2 separate regions of the Homo sapiens genome follow, and region 1 is linked to region 2. Evidence: promoter capture Hi-C in human tissues and cell types (Jung and others, 2019). All regions are on one chromosome and are shown on one strand. The core of a region is centred on a gene start or on the middle of the fragment in contact, and the rest is flanking DNA. Distances in the headings are between cores, read along the strand shown. Region 1 overlaps EIF2B1 (eukaryotic translation initiation factor 2B subunit alpha). Region 2 holds the start of RSRC2 (arginine and serine rich coiled-coil 2).

Region 1 (5,715 bases), core at 1,323-3,822, 1.1 Mb before region 2:
TGAGATCATGCCACTGCACTCTAGCCTGGGCAACAGAGTGAGATCTGGTCTCAAAAAAAAAAAGAAAGATTTTTAAAACTGCATAACACTTTTGTCCAACTTCAGATCTCATCAGATTTTAAAATTTTGTTTGGTTTGTGCTGAAGTAGAAAAGAAAGTAGAGGATACCACACTTGGAAGGAAGACTGCTGTGTCAGGACATTCTTGCTTCACTTACACACATATGTACGTGTGCATGCGCCGGGCGGCAGTGTGAAGTGTATGTCTCATTGTAGGGTCATGACCAGAAAACACCCCTGGTAACAATGCCAGGGGTCTATCGCGTGTTAAGTGCGCTTTAAAAAAAACAGGTAGTTATGGGAGGAACTTACCTTGATAGAAATGGAATATTGATCTTTGCAGATGATGATGCTACTCGTTAGAGCCAAGAAAATAAAGCATGAAAAGCTTTTTTTCCCCTTAGCTACATCATGGAGAAAGCAGATCTTGTCATAGTTGGTGCTGAAGGAGTTGTTGAAAACGGAGGAATTATTAACAAGGTAAGAGCATCAGTTCTCCCCAGTTCCCTGCTCAAGACTTGGAGGTGTCTTGCTGACCTAGGACACCACAGCAGTGTTGATTATGGTTCCTTCTAATCCTGCTTCACTTCAGGACTTCATCATGGTATTGAGTTGTTGCCCATTTCCCGTAAGTCATAGCAATGGGCAGTCCAGTTTCAGTCAAATCTTTTTTAGATTGATCTACATAAATGAAGACAATGTAATTTGGTCAGGTGTGATGCCTTATACCTGTAATCCTAGCAATTTGAGAGGCCAGGGTGGGAGGATCACTTGAGGCCTTGAGTTCAAGACCAGCCTGGGCAACATAGTGAAACCCTGTCTCTACAAAAAATTAGAAAAATTAGCTGGGCGTGGTGGTGCTTGCCTGTAGTTCCAGCTGCCCAGGAAGCTGAGGCAGGAGTATCACGTGAGCCCAGGAATTTGAGGTTGCAGTAAGTTATGATCACACTACTGCATTCCAGCCTGGGCGATGGTGAGACCCTGTCTCAGTAAAAAAAAAAAAAAAAAAAGTGTAATTTATATTTATACAAAATTGGCTTGAATTGGAATTGGGGTTTGTCTGGTTTTTGCTTTATTTATGTGTATATGTATGTTTTATTTATGCATATATATACACACACATAATATATATACACAAATATTTTTAAAATATTATTTATATATTTACATATAAAGTATGTATGTATAAAATACGTGTATTTATATATAAATATTATATATATTTTAAAATAGAGACACATTCACTCTGTTGCCCAGGCTGTAGTGTAGTACAGTGATCATAGCTTACTGCAGTCTTGAACTCCTAGCCTGAAGCAATCTTTCCACTTCCCAAAGTGCTAGGATTACAGGCATGAGCCACTGTGGCCGGCCTGTCATTTGTTTTCATTTTAATTGAGCACATTTGACCTCAATTTATTACAATCTCTCTCTCCATTATTTAATTTAGAAAAGCTTCATGAAAGCTTTTTTTAGTTAAAATATATGTAACATAAGGCCGGGCGTAGTAGCTCACGCCTATAATCCCAGCACTTTGGGAGGCTGAGGCAGGTAGATCATCTGAGGTCAGGAGTTCGAGACCAGCCTGGCCAACATGGTGAAACCCCATATCTACTAAAAATACAAAAAATTAGCTGGGCATGGTGGCGGGTGCCTGTAATCCCAGCTACTTGGCAGGCTGACGCAGGAGAATCGCTTGAACCTGGGAGGCGGAGGTCTGCAGGCAGAGTGTTGAGTCACATGGTAACTATATATTTAACTTTCAGAAACTAATGATTTTCCACAGCAGCTGCACTACTTTACATTCCCACTAGCAAAGCACAAAGGTTCCAATTTCTCTACATCCTTGCCAACACTTGTTTTTTTAAATTTTTTTATTTTTTGAGATGGAGTTTCACTCTTGCTGTCCAGGCTGGAGTGCAATGGCACAGTCTTGGCTCACTGCAACCTCCAGTGCCCGGGTTCAAGCGAGTCTCCTGCTTCAGCCTCCCTAGTAGCTGGGATTACAGGCACCCCCCATCCCACCATGCCCAGCTAATTTTTTGTATTTTTAGTAGAGATGGGGTTTCCCTATATTGGCCAGCTGGTCTCAAACTCCTGACCTCAGGTGATCCACCCACCTCGGCCTCCCAAAGTGCTGGGATTACAGGCGTGAGCCACCACATCCAGCCTCTAGTGGCTGTTTCTATATCCTTTGAGAAACATTTATTTTTTTGATTCCAAAGTCAGAATTAGATATATCTAATATATGTATTAGATATATGTATATCTATATTATATACATAACTTTCTATTGCTGTTTTTTAATTGTTCCTTTATTGTAATTGAGACGAGGTCTCACCGTGTTGCCTAGGCTGGTCCCAAACTCATGGGTTCAGGTGATCCACCCACCTCGGCCTCCCAAAATGCTGGAATACAGGCATGCACCACTGTGCCCGGCCCGCTTTTCTGTGGCTTCTACTTCAGATGCACTCTAGAGCTCATCCATTCCATTTTCTGCCTTCCCAGATTGGAACCAACCAGATGGCTGTGTGTGCCAAAGCACAGAACAAACCTTTCTATGTGGTTGCAGAAAGTTTCAAGTTTGTCCGGCTCTTTCCACTAAACCAGCAAGACGTCCCAGATAAGTTTAAGGCAAGAGTTTTACATATTTGAAGGGGTACTAAAGTCTAAACAGAAACCTTTGGAAATTGTAGTCCTAAGAATGTTCCAGTAATTTTTTCACTTCCTATTGCTACTTTCCCCAACACTTGGAATACAAAGATAAATTGGTGATTGGACTCACACATTTGTCCCTAGAACTTCAGTCTTTCAGTCTCTTTAAGTAGCACCATAGATGGGTGGAGAGGAAGCCCGAAGCTGGTGGGTAAGTCCCAGCTTTGGGCTTAACTGAGCTCAGCTCCCATCACCACAACTTACAAACTGTGCGAGTTGAGGCAAGTCCTTTCATTTCAACCTCTGAACCGGTTTTCTTGTCTGTAAAATGGCATAGCAGTATCTGACAGGGTCATGAGGATTCTAAGATAATCTTAGCACAGTCCCTGGCACGCTGCAAGCTCTCTATTGTGACTCTCGATCTTCCCTTGAGAGGTCTGGAGAAGTTAATCCGGCATGAGAATGAGGGGACATGGGATTTAAGTTTGTTACACTACAGCTCTCAGCCAGCACACTGCCATGATCTGGCTCATGGCCACAACTCTGCCCTCGTCTCTAGTGTCCTGCATAGCTTAGTTTCTCCCATTTTCAGAGAGCAGTCTCAGGAAGTAGCACACTGATCACTCACACCAAGGCCCTACCAGGTCAGAGCACTAAATATTCAGTGCCGACTAATGTGTACTTCTCTCCTCAGTATAAGGCAGACACTCTCAAGGTCGCGCAGACTGGACAAGACCTCAAAGAGGAGCATCCGTGGGTCGACTACACTGCCCCTTCCTTAATCACTCTGCTGTTTACAGACCTGGGCGTGCTGACACCCTCAGCAGTCAGCGATGAGCTCATCAAGCTCTATCTGTAACCTGTGAGCCCTTTCCTGCCAAGGTGCAGCTTACGTAGTTGAGGCAGGGTGAGTAGCTGCTTGACACCCCAGTGAGTCAGGCCAAAACTGAGATGTGTTTAATGAAGATTTATGGAGTAAGGACTTAAAATCATACATCTTGGAGAACCTTTCTTACTCATTTCAGTCCCATCTAAAAATGTGTCAGCTATTCTAAATCCCAACTTAAATTGTTCTTACGGTTTCTAGAAACTTTCCTTTTCAGTTTCCAGAAATACAAGTTAGATAATTGGCTACTTAACTGATGAAAGATGAGCCCAAGTCCACCTGTCTTCATCCTCCCCTGCACTCCAGACTGATCTGCCTAAAGCACGCGAGATGCAGGCGAAAAGCAGCCACACCCCTCTGCCACAAATGACCAACAGCTGGTCAGGACGTTACACGCGGTGCCTTGTAAGAGGCAAGAAACACTTGCTGAATCTGCATCTGGCTTCCAGTGGTAAGCACATTCCTCAGCAGGATCAAGCCAAACAGTAAAAACTACCAAGAGAACACGAGGAAGGCAGAAACGATGTTTAGCAACAGTATTCTGCATGGTTCACTGCTTAAGAAAATGCCTTCTGGAATATTTGTAAACTGAAATTCTGTATGTGTAAGAGATGTTTAAATATGTTTGGGTCCTAAACAGCTTTTTAAAATTATACTTGGGAATAAATTCAGCATCTTTTCAAATAAACTCTATGAAAGACGCTGATGTGGTGTTGCATCAATACTGCAAGCTGACCAGGCCATCTAGGGGAAAACACTGTCCAGCTACATTTACACACTTAAGACCCAGGCAATCAGGACACCATTTATTCAACAGGAGGCATAAAAACTATAATTCTCTTTCCCGGAATATGACTTAATCCCTCTGTTTTTCAGCTATTCACCAATAAAACAATACTGTGACTATTAACACAGAAAAACCCCAGCACATTAGCCACCCCTGCAGGACATCAAAGGATAACTGAAGCCCAGGGCCAAGCACATTCAGGAGGTCAAATGCCTGAAGATACTGAGGAATGGTTTTGAAAATCAGAAGTCAAGAAGACTTCTGTATCTTTATGTTTAAAAATAACTATAAAATAGCCTCAGAAAAAAGAGCTTATATATATATATATATATATATATATATATATATATATATATATATAATATGTACATATGTCTATATGTGACCCATCATGATAAATACTGACATCTATTATTTACACTCAAATAATTTTACATTTTCTTCTGTTAGACTACTCCAAGACTGGAATTGTTTTGTTTTGTTGTTTTTAATGAGAGGGTCTCGCTGTGTTCCCAGGCTGGTCTTGAACTCCTGGGCTCAAGTGATCCTCCTGCCTCAGCCTCCCAAAGTGCTGGGATTATAGGCAGGAGCCACCGCACCCGGCCAAGACTGGAATGTTTTTAGTAAAATATTCTGAAGTGTGAAATCCTTCATTTCTCCCTCATCTGAAAGGACAGCTTTCAGAGACATCATTCTTTTCAGATGTCTCCTGAAGTTGTGATTTTCGTTAAAAGCAAACTGGAGCCATCCACCAAGTTAGGGAACAGCTATGTCCTTGTGGGTTCATCTGTGGCACTGGAATCAGCAGTCATCTTCCAAATCTGAGATCCCTAAATCCACTGTCTTGATTGTTCTTTTGCCAGTTGTCAACAAGCCCTTCTCAAATTCTTCTTCAGTTATTTTGCCTTTCTTAAGTTTTTTCAAGAGTCTTGTGTCATTAAGAAGTTCTTCCATGTCCTCATCTTCAATATCAGAACCCTAAGTGCAGAAGAAACCAATAAACTACTAAATTTTTCAGCAATAGTGTTGTAGTGAAACCAGCAGTTTTAACTCAAGAACTATAAGCTCTCAGATTGGCTTCTGCAAATAGAGCAAATTCCCCACCCTGGTCGCCAACGTAACAGAAATCTGACAGCCCCACACAATTCCTATTTAAAGAACTACTACAATAAATTTGTTCAAGATTCTAAGTTAATGTAAGTAAAAGTAAACTTTACCTCTTCCCTTTTCCTTTTCTCATTCATTTTTTTCTTCTTTTCTTTTTTGGCCTTCTGCTTTGACCAAGCTTTATTTTTTATGAATTTTCTTCTCCCTTCATTTTCTGTTTTCTC
Region 2 (5,369 bases), core at 2,773-5,272:
GGTTTCAGGCATGAAGCAAGAATGGTGCAATTACTGACAGAAGAAAGTTAAAATGTAGAAAGAAATGCACGGATAAACCTCATACTCAGCAGGGTGCTTGACTCTGGTAGGAAACAGGAGGAACACAGATTCAGGGATGGACCCTCAGAGCCTTCAACTCTATTTGTAACATTTTATTTCCTAAGTCAGTCGTAGATATTCTTTGTATGCCGGGAGTGATGGCTCACACCTGTAATCCCAGCACTTTGGGAGGCTGAGGTGGGTGGATTTCTTGAGGCCAGGAGTTCAAGACCAGCCTGGCCAACATGGAGAAACCCCATCTTTACAAAAATACAAAAAATTAGCTGAGCATGGTGGCACACAACTGTAATCTCAGCTACTTGGGAGGCTGAGGCACGAGAATCACTTGAATCTGGGAGTCAGAGATTGCAGTGAGCCGTGATCACACCACTGCACTCCAGCCTGGGTGACAGAGTAAGAATCTGTCTCAAAAAAAAAAAAAAAAGATATCCTTTGTATCAACTTACACATATTTTTGTATGCATGAAATATCAAGAGGAACTAAGAATCCTTCAGTTGTGAAAATACTGATCCTGACATGATGCAGAGGGTATTCAGACGTGAATTTCTAGCAATCTGAGATTGAATCTTGATTCCCTGAGGAAGTGCTATGTTCATTCACAAAATATTTACTGTGGGCCACTAGCCCTACTAAGCACTCAGTAAAAATTCTGTGAATGAAACAGTCAGTGTAATAATCACTACCTTTTCAGAAGAGATCTTCACTAGCAAATCTACTTGATATAAAGCAGTTCCATGTTCTTTTCTTGAACCGACACTCAGGTACCCACTTCCGGTATCATCATTTGTTAGCAGCTCAATATCATTCCACATGTTTCTGAGACTGTCTTCCTGAGTCAGGAACCACTGTCTTTCCTGAACAACATAAAATTAGACACCATATTATCTTGTTGCATAGAACCTGGTTCCTTGGGAAATGATAAAGCTTACTCACAAAACAAAAACAAAAGTCTAACATTAACATATACAGACATCTTAGTCTTCTTGTTATTGCTGTGGCCACTAAACACTTCGGGCCAATAACATAAATGGAACTAGAGCTATGATGGTTACCAGAGAACAACATATTGGTTTATGCACACAAACCAACAATTCTGATCTTACCAATGTATCTTAGAGCTTCCATTACTTTGTGTGTCTAGTTTGGAATTATACCAAGTTTTCATTAGAAATAAACCTTTAATTATACCAAGTTTTCATTAGAAATAAACCTTTCATTAGAAATAAACCTTTAATAGCAGCAAACAGTGTAGGTTTAGATGCCAGATTGTCAGGGATATCATAGGATGATAAGATTCCAGATGAAGTTCAGAAAAAGTCCATTGATGCTATCATAGTATTATTATACAACAAATAAAAATGATAAGGGGAGGAGAAAAAAATGAATTAGGTTTCTGGATCAAAGACTAAGCTTGAAACCTTATGAGGTTTACCCATCTCAAAAAGCAAAGGTTTACATAAACCATATTACCTGGAGTCTGGGTGGGAAAAGAACACTAAGGATAAAAACAATCCTTGGATCAAGACTGGTAGGGAATGATAATCAAATAATTACAATTGGTTTCATAAGTGCTACTAGAAGTATGTTTCAATATCTATAAAAGGTATAGCACAAGGTAGAAACAATTTCTGACTTGGTGCTCTTTCACAATGACTAGGCAGCTGTCCTTGGGTGATCACTTAATCTTTCTGTTCCTCAATTCTCTAATTTATAAAATAGGAATATACAGACCAGGCCGGCGCGGTGGCTCACACCTGTAATCCCAGAACTTTGGGAGGCTTAGGCAGGTGGATTATCTGAGGTCAGGAGTTTGAGACCAGCCTGGCCAACATGACGAAACCCCCTCTCTACTAAAAACACAAAAAATTAGCCGGGCGTGGTGGTGTGCGCCTGTAATCCCAGCTACTCAGGAGGCTGAGGCTGTAGAATTGCTTGAACCCGGGAGGCGGAGGTTGCAGTAAGTCGAGATCGTGCCACTTGCACTCCAGCTTGGGCAACAAGAGTGAAACTCCGTCTTGGAAAAAAAATATATATATACAGTTTGCCGTCAATATCCATGTGTTCCACATCCCTAGATTGCACCTACAGGCATAGCACATTTACACTGTTACGCAAGATAAGAAATCAAGAGATGATTTAAAGTATACAGGCAGATGTTCCTAGGCTACATGCAAATACTATGCCATTTAATGACAGGGACTTAAGCATCCTAGGGTTTTGGTATCTGTGGGAGGTCCTGGAACCAATCTCCCATGGATACCAATACCAAGGGACTAATTTAGTTGTACCCACCTGAAGGAGTTTTCTATTTTTCACTTCTGGTTTTTTGAGAGACGAGGGTCTCACTATTTTGCCCTGGCTGGCCTTGATCTCCTGGGCTCAAGCAATCCTTCTGCTTCAGCCTCCAAATGTTTTGAGTTTTAAATGTTCACAGAACAATGCTTGGTTGATGGCAAACATTCAATTTTAGGTGTTAGCTAATTTGTTATTGGGCTGAGAATTGAAGATCATAGTTTTATAAATGTTTAAAGAGTTCTTCCTAAGAGCATAAGCAAGGGAACAGAAACAAAACATGTTTGGAGAATAGAGAAGTTTCAGTGGCTGGTGTTTGGGTGGGAGTGAGGAGATGAAGAAGGAGGGACAGGTTGGAATGAATACCTTTATGGGTCTCAATTTCCCACATCTGTGAAATAGAGAAACCGCCCGTAACTGCCATATTTACTTATTCAACAAATGTTTATTGAATACCTATTTACTATGTGCCAGACACCTTTCTAGGAACTGGGAATATAGCTTGAACAGAACACAAAATGTCTTTGCCATTATGAAGTTTATGTTTTTGCGGGAAAAACGGACAAAAATAAAATTGTTAATACGTATCTTGTTATGCTACCTCCACAAAAAAGCAACTGCACAAATAATTACAAAAAGTGCTAAATGATTTGAAGGAAACAGTGATTAAATGGATAAGGTGAGGCGTCGCTGAAGAAGGATTTGTTTGGGAAGGGAAGGAGGTGACATCTGAGCTGAGACCTGAATAACAAGAAGTACGCAAAACTTAGGCGGAACGCGACGTAGGCAGAGGGAACAGAGTGCAAAGACTCGGAGGCTGGGTAGGAAGCGTTTGATGCTGCTGCCGGGTCAAAGCAAAAGCAGAAGACAGTGAGGGAGAGAGCAGTGGAGTCCAATAAAACCTCGACCTCAAGATTGAATTTTATTCTCAGTACAAGGGGTAGAAGGGGAACTCAGCAAACGAGTGGTCTGATTTTATAATTTTGAGATCACTCTGGCGGCGGAATGCAGAACAGATTCGCGAATACGAGAGAATGAGCAAGATGAAACACTTGTCAGTTAGGCCTCCATACTTAAACGCTCTCCGCTGGACATCGCCGCCAGCAAAAACCGACTCCAACCTCTCTCCTGCCAGCGTCAAGGGGAAAACAACAGGAACTGAGCAGAGGCTGCAGCTACTTCGTCCTGAACCCACCCCCAGTTCCCTACACAGCGCAGCTCCCCGTCCTCACCTGCAATTGAAGAAACTAAAGAGGAACACTCAGATATCTGGCCCCTCTTCCTGACTCACACAACCGCCTCTAGTCTTTAGGTTCCATGCCACAGGCTTAAATTGGCGGGAGAACACTAAACCCAACCCCTTTACGGCGGCCGGAAGAGACCAAGATTACTTTAGACTCGAAATAGGAAGTTGCCCCACCCTGAGTTCCGCCCATTCCGTTCTCCCGACTGCGCATTCCGGGGGTGTATTCTTGGCCCCGCCCTCTTCACGGTCTTTACACTCCCCTATGAAAGAACACCCAATCACCGCCTCGAATTGCGTTGTTATAGAAACTTTTGTTACCGCCCCTTTTTCTCCCAGCAAGCTGTGCGACGCGCCGGGCCTCCTCGCCTTTGTGCCATCCGGGTCTCTCGCGCGAGCGATTTAGTCTGAGGCGAAGCTTCGGAGCGGCCGGTACTGTTGAAAGCGACAAGTGGAGGCGCCGCTCTAGCGGCCGGGACTCTGAACTATGGCGGTAGGTACCGAATCTGAGTTTAAAGCCAGGGATATTTTTCTGCTACGTTCCAACAGTGGGTGAACGGCTCCCAGAACCTTGTTCGTGTGTATGTGTGTAGACAAAATGGCGCCGCGGCCTTCTTCTGCGCCCGCCATCATGGCTGCCTGCTGTAGGGAGGGGGAAGTAAGGCGGTGTTGGTGGGGGTGGGGAGCCGCAGGGAGTGCCTTTTTTTTTCCAGAACTTTCCTCCTCTCTTCCCCAACCCTACGTTCCTTTCGCCTCACTGAACTTCCTCCATTTTCGCTTATTCACCCTGGCTAGTGATTTATTCTAAGTTTTTTTTAGGGCCTGAGAATTTGCGGTGGAGAAAGGGGCTGGGGAAGAGAAAGACGATCAGGAGTGGTCTCTGAAAAGTATTGGGTCAAAAAGGCAGTGTCTGTAAAGGGTAGTGTGGGAGAAGAGAGCGACTTGTAGCTATTTTTTTTTTTGTACGCTCAATGAGATGCTTCTAGTTGCATAATTTCAATTAGTGTTCGTCCGTGTAAACCTTATTATTGTGTATTAACGAGCTAGGAAGGTATTGCTGAAAGGGAGTGAAAATTCAACTTAAAAGGTTGTGGAACTACCAATTCTGACTGATGCGCGGTTTCCGAAGTGGCCCGTGATGTAATCAATTTGAAGTCCGAGAAGCGTTACAGTTAAGTCTTGTCACTGACCTTGTTCCTTTAAATTTAAACCCTTCGTTGGCCGGGCGCGGTGGCTCACGCCTGTAATCCCAGCACTTTGGGAGGCCGAGGCGGGCGGATCACGAGGTCAGGAGATCGAGACCATCCCGGCTAAAACGGTGAAACCCTGTCTCTACTAAAAATACAAAAAAATTAGCCGGGCGTAGTGGCGGACGCCTGTAGTCCCAGCTACTTGGGAGGCTGAGGCAGGAGAATGGCGTGAACCCGGGAGGCGGAGCTTGCAGTGAACCGAGATCCCGCCACTGCACTCCAGCCTGGGTGACAGAGCGAGACTCCGTCTCAAAAAAAAAAAAAAAAAAAAAAAAAAAAAAAAAAAAAACTCTTCGTTGACCCCAGAGGAGCTACAGTTCGTAAATTATCTATTCTGAACAATAAGCCTGCGTGTGTATAAGATACCCAATTCTGACGGATCCACATTATTTTGTGCTTACCTCATTTTTATTCCGTTAAAAGGAAAATGTAAAGATTTTGCATTCCTTTTTACTGACTAAAAAATTACATCATTTTCGATAATAATTATGACTCTTAAACA

What was found. Contacts are between HindIII fragments. The study calls those that stand out against the background at their distance.
Region 1: a contact is called between a fragment that was not itself captured here and the fragment with the promoter of RSRC2 in region 2, in 1 of the 25 tissues and cell types used here (dorsolateral prefrontal cortex).

Annotation. Positions count from the first base shown.
Region 1 is chr12:123,619,611-123,625,325 of GRCh38, reverse strand. It overlaps EIF2B1 (eukaryotic translation initiation factor 2B subunit alpha), which reads left to right. Exons shown (of 9, transcript NM_001414.4): 7 at 464-539; 8 at 2,565-2,690; 9 at 3,406-4,920. The coding sequence ends at 3,570. It overlaps DDX55 (DEAD-box helicase 55), which reads right to left. Exons shown (of 14, transcript NM_020936.3): 13 at 5,602-5,715; 14 at 4,383-5,362. The coding sequence ends at 5,186. Among named protein-coding and RNA genes, the nearest start is that of SNORA9B, 5.8 kb to the right of the region's middle. RefSeq lists an enhancer at 2,750-3,949. The HindIII fragment of the contact is 7,939 bases long and covers 1-5,715 here.
Region 2 is chr12:122,525,589-122,530,957 of GRCh38, reverse strand. It overlaps RSRC2 (arginine and serine rich coiled-coil 2), which reads left to right and starts at 4,022. Exons shown (of 10, transcript NM_023012.6): 1 at 4,022-4,110. The coding sequence starts at 4,105. KNTC1 (kinetochore associated 1) reads right to left here and starts at 3,709. Exons shown (of 64, transcript NM_014708.6): 1 at 3,607-3,709; 2 at 766-967. The coding sequence starts at 894. RefSeq lists enhancers at 1,676-1,775, 3,883-4,342. The HindIII fragment of the contact is 3,842 bases long and covers 1,250-5,091 here.